Regions from separate parts of the Homo sapiens genome. Here region 2 is linked to region 1. Evidence: promoter capture Hi-C in 16 types of primary human blood cells and fetal thymus (Javierre and others, 2016). All regions are on one chromosome and are shown on one strand. Each heading gives the region's core, a stretch centred on a gene start or on the middle of the fragment in contact. The rest is flanking DNA. Distances are from core to core; before and after follow the strand shown.

Region 1 (2,679 bases), core at 119-2,618:
ACCCGCCTCGGCCTCCCAAAGTGCTGGGATTACAGGCGTGAGCCACCACGCCCGGTCACATATTTTATTTTAAAAACATTTTTAGCAGTTTTTTTGTTTTGTTGAGTTTTGTTATGTTGCCCAGGCTGGTCTTGAACTCCTAACCTCAAGCAATCCTCCTGCCTTGGCCCCTCAAAGGAGTGCTAGGATTACAGGCATGAGCCACGGTGCCCAGCCCAGAACTACATTCTCATTGAAGAGAATAAGATCCAGCAAGGCCTACAGAGCATGTTGGAAGTGTCCTGAGAGCCAAAGCCCATGATTCCTCCATATCAGGGGGGCACTGGGTAGAGCCAGGAAGGAAGGGGGAGTCCCCAAGGCCCATACTGTGGACCCCATTATACAGCTTCCATATACTGAGGCTGCAGAGGAGGTATGGGCCTCCACTTACGTGCCTCTCTGACTCTGAGGTCCAGTCAGCAAGGCCAGATCCCATCCTAAGACCCTTATGGCCCTGGGAGAGCAGGGCATAACACACCTTCCTCTGACACCATCTTGTCGCTGATAGCTCAGGAGAAGCACATGGAAGAATGGTCCCGGCCGGGCGCGGTGGCTTACGCCTGTAATCCCAACAGTTTGGGAGGCTGAGGCGGGCGGATCACCTGAGGTCAGGAGTTTGAGACCAGCCTGGCCAACACTGTGAATCCTGTCTCTACTAAAAATACAAAATTAGCCGGGTGTGGTGGTGCGCGCCTGTAATCCCAGCTATTCAGGAGGTTGAGACAGGAGGAGGTTGAGGCTGGAGAATCGCTTGAACCTGGGAGGCGGAGTTTGCAGTGAGCCGAGATCGCGCCACTGCAATCCAGCTTGGGCCACAGAGCAAGACTCCTTCTCAAAAAAAAAAAAGGACAGTCCTTTCCCACAAAGGGTGGCGCCCCATAACATCTCTTGTAAGTGCCCCACATCTCCCCTCTGGTCTTCCACACAATCCTGGTCTCTGTTCTCCACATGGTGGGCCCCCAGGCCACCTCTGGGCACCAGCCACTGAGGGTGTTGCTACTAAGTGCAAACTAGTTCCACCGCAAGCAAAGAGCCCAGTGTCCTGCCCCCCTTCTCGCTGCGAACCAGTCGGTAGTGGGGGGATGGGATGGGACGGCTCAGACTGGCTCACCTCTCTCCAGGCCACACCATGCACATCCACCCACAGGCCGCTGAGAAAAAGGCGCCAAGACGCCAGGTGAAGGTACAGGAGCCAGGCCTCCAAGGGCCGGAAGAGTCGGATGGGCGGAGGGCCTGGGCTAGGCCAAGCCTTCCTCGCGGCCCCGCCCCCACGGCCCGACTCCGCCCGCCCAGCCCGGCGCCCTCGGGTCGGCTGAGCGCTAAGCGCCAGTGTACAGCGGCGGCTGGGGCGGCAGGTGAGGCGGCTGGGGCGTTGCTGTCGTGCGTCCGCAGGCGTCAGGTGCTCAGACCCGAGGGCCGGGAAGGGATTTGGGTTTCACAGGAACCTGGGGCGGGGGTCCGCTATCTTGGGGCTGTCGGGACCGCTGCTTAAATTTGGCCCAGTCCAGACCTCGAGTCGGGCCCCCAGCCAGGCCCACGCCCAGGTCCAGGCCCAGGCCGGTAGGGATCCTCTAGGGTCCCAGCTCGCCTCGATGGAGCTCCTCCCGCCGCTGCCTCAGTCCTTCCTGTTGCTGCTGCTGTTGCCTGCCAAGCCCGCGGCGGGCGAGGACTGGCAGTGCCCGCGCACCCCCTACGCGGCCTCTCGCGACTTTGACGTGAAGTACGTGGTGCCCAGCTTCTCCGCCGGAGGCCTGGTACAGGCCATGGTGACCTACGAGGGCGACAGAAATGAGAGTGCTGTGTTTGTAGCCATACGCAATCGCCTGCATGTGCTTGGGCCTGACCTGAAGTCTGTCCAGAGCCTGGCCACGGGCCCTGCTGGAGACCCTGGCTGCCAGACGTGTGCAGCCTGTGGCCCAGGACCCCACGGCCCTCCCGGTGACACAGACACAAAGGTGCTGGTGCTGGATCCCGCGCTGCCTGCGCTGGTCAGTTGTGGCTCCAGCCTGCAGGGCCGCTGCTTCCTGCATGACCTAGAGCCCCAAGGGACAGCCGTGCATCTGGCAGCGCCAGCCTGCCTCTTCTCAGCCCACCATAACCGGCCCGATGACTGCCCCGACTGTGTGGCCAGCCCATTGGGCACCCGTGTAACTGTGGTTGAGCAAGGCCAGGCCTCCTATTTCTACGTGGCATCCTCACTGGACGCAGCCGTGGCTGCCAGCTTCAGCCCACGCTCAGTGTCTATCAGGCGTCTCAAGGCTGACGCCTCGGGATTCGCACCGGGCTTTGTGGCGTTGTCAGTGCTGCCCAAGCATCTTGTCTCCTACAGTATTGAATACGTGCACAGCTTCCACACGGGAGCCTTCGTATACTTCCTGACTGTACAGCCGGCCAGCGTGACAGATGATCCTAGTGCCCTGCACACACGCCTGGCACGGCTTAGCGCCACTGAGCCAGAGTTGGGTGACTATCGGGAGCTGGTCCTCGACTGCAGATTTGCTCCAAAACGCAGGCGCCGGGGGGCCCCAGAAGGCGGACAGCCCTACCCTGTGCTGCGGGTGGCCCACTCCGCTCCAGTGGGTGCCCAACTTGCCACTGAGCTGAGCATCGCCGAGGGCCAGGAAGTACTATTTGGGGTCT
Region 2 (2,679 bases), core at 63-2,562, 320 kb after region 1:
AAATATATACACCTACTAAGTGCCCAAAAAAATGAAAAATAGAAAATAAAACAAAAAAGAGAAAAGACCTCAAACCAATAACCTAAACTTCCGACTTAATACTTAGAAAAAGAAGAGCAAACTAAACACAATGTAAATATAATGAAGAAAATAATAAAGATTAGAGGTGAAATACAGAATAGAAAATAGAGAAAGACAATAAAACCAAAAGATGGTTCTTTCAAAAGATAAAAAAAAAATCAATAAGCCTTCTTTTAACAAAGAAAAAAAGATTCAAATGACTAAAATCAGAAATAAAAGAAAGGATGTTACTACCAATCTTAAATAAATTAAAAGGATTGGCCGGGCGTGGTGGCTCACGTCTGTAATCCCAGCACTTTGGGAAGCCGAGGTGGGTGGATCACGAGGTCAGGAGATCGAGACCCTCCTGGCTAACACGGTGAAACCCCGTCTCTACTAAAAATAAAAAAAATAAAAATAAAAATTAGCTGGGCATGGTGGTGGGCACCTGTAGTCCCAGCTACTCAGAAGGCTGAGGCAGGAGAATGGAGTGAACTCGGGAGGCAGAGCTTGCAGTGAGCCGAGATCGCGCCACTGCACTCCAGCCTGGGCGACAGTGCGAGACTCCATCTTGATAAATAAATAAATAAATAAATAAATCGGATTGCAAGAGAATACTATGAACAACCACACATCCTTAGGTAATTTAGATGAAATTGACAAATTCCAAGATGCAAACTATCAAAACTGACTCAGGAAGAAATGAAAAATCGGAATAGACCTATAACACATAAATAAACTGAATAAGTAATTTTAAAACTTCCCACAAAGAAAAGCTTATGCTCAGTTGTCTTCACTGGTGAATCCTACTAACCATTGAAAAAGAATTTATTTTTTAAAAATTTTATTTTATAACAGACAGGGTCTTGCTCTGTCATCCAGGCTGGAATGCAGTGACACAATCATAGCTCACTGCAGCCTCGAACTCCTGAGTTCAAGTGATCCTCCCACCTCAGCCTCCCACAGTGCTGGGATTAGAGGCATGAGCCACTGTGCCCAGCCAAAAATAAATTAATATCAACAAAGATACTACAAGAAAACTACAGATCAATTTTCCTTATGAAAAGAGATGCAAACATCCTTAAGAAAATACTAGCACACTGAATTCAGCAGCATATTAGAAGTATTGTACATCCTTCTATTGGGCTTTATTTCTGGAATGCAAGGTTGACTGAACATCCAAAAATCAATCAATGTTCCAGACACAGTGGCTCACACCTGTAATCCCAGCACTTTGGGAGGCCGAGGTGGGCAAATCACTTGAGGCCAGGAGTTTGAGACCAGCCTGGCCAATATAGTGAAACCCCATCTCTACTAAAAATACAAAAATTAGCCAGGAGTAGTTGCACGCACCTGTAATCCCAGCTACTCTGGAGGCTGAAGCAGGAGAATCTCTTGAACCTGGGAGGCAGAGGCTGCAGTGGGCCAAGATTGCACCACTGCACTCCAGCCTTGGGAACAGAGCAAGACCCTGTCTCATAAATAAATAAATAAATAAATAAATAAATAAATGTAATACACCATATTAATAGAATGAAGGGAATGAAGGGAAGAAACTATATGTTTACCTCAATTGATGCAGAAAAAGCATTTGACAAAAGTCAATACACTTTCATGATTCAAAAGACTTAAGCTAGAAATAGAAGGGAACTTTCTCAATATGATAAGGACTATTTATGAAAAGTTCACAGCTAACATAATACTCAATAGTGAAAAATTAGAAGCTTTCCCTTTACAATCAGAAACAAGACAACGATGTGCAAGGAAGTTTTACCATTTCTATCTAACATAGTACTGGAAGTCCTAGTCAGAGCTATTGGGCAAGAAAAAAAATAAATAAAGGACATCCAAATTGGAAAAGAAGAAGTAAAATTATCTCTACCTGCAGACCACATGATCTTACATGTAGATAACCCTAAACAGGCCACAAAAAAGTTAGAACTAATAAACAACTTCAGCAAAACTGAAGGATATAAAATCAACACACAAAAGGCAGTTCATTTCAGCTGGGCCTGTAGTTCCAGTTCCTCAGTAGGCTGAAGCAAGAGGGTTGCTTGAGCCCAGAAATTTGAGCCTGTAGTGTGTTATGACTGCAAATGTAAATAGCCACTGAACTCCAGCCTGGGCAACACAGCAAGACCCTGTCTTGAAAACAAAAATAGGCAAAGGACTTGAACAGACATTTCTCTAAAGATTTACAAATGGCCAATAAGCCATTGATTAGAAAAATGCAAATCAAAACTACAATAAGATACCACTTCACACTCTTTAGGCTATTACTAAAAACAAACAAAATAAACAGAAAATAACAAGTGTTGACAAGGACGTGGAAAAATTGGAACCCTCATACAATGATGGTGGAAATGTAAAACGGTACAGCTGCTACAGAAAAATTTTTGGCAGCGCCTCGAAAAGCCTAACATAAAATTACCATATGATCCAGGAATTCCACTCTTAGGTTTATATCCAGAGGAAGTAAAACCAGGGACTTGAACAGATACTTGAATGCCAATGTTTATTACACCATTATTCACAATATAGTAGCCCCCACTTATCCTCAGGGGATATGTTCCAAGACCCCCAGTAGATGCCTATATACACAAAGTTTGTTTTTTTTTG

Evidence for each region. The method cuts DNA at HindIII sites, captures the fragments that hold promoters and counts their contacts. A CHiCAGO score of 5 or more calls a contact.
Region 2: a fragment that was not itself captured here is called in contact with the fragment with the promoter of MST1R in region 1 in 1 of 17 cell types (erythroblasts); the score reaches 5.6 in erythroblasts.

Annotation. Positions count from the first base shown.
Region 1 is chr3:49,902,562-49,905,240 of GRCh38, reverse strand. It overlaps MST1R (macrophage stimulating 1 receptor), which reads left to right and starts at 1,368. Exons shown (of 20, transcript NM_002447.4): 1 at 1,368-2,679. The coding sequence starts at 1,632. RefSeq lists enhancers at 323-995, 984-1,033, 1,670-2,343, 2,344-2,679 and a silencer at 1,224-1,443. The HindIII fragment of the contact is 26,972 bases long and covers 1-2,679 here.
Region 2 is chr3:49,581,846-49,584,524 of GRCh38, reverse strand. All of the region lies in intron 1 of BSN (bassoon presynaptic cytomatrix protein), which reads right to left. Among named protein-coding and RNA genes, the nearest start is that of BSN, 29 kb to the right of the region's middle. The HindIII fragment of the contact is 948 bases long and covers 839-1,786 here.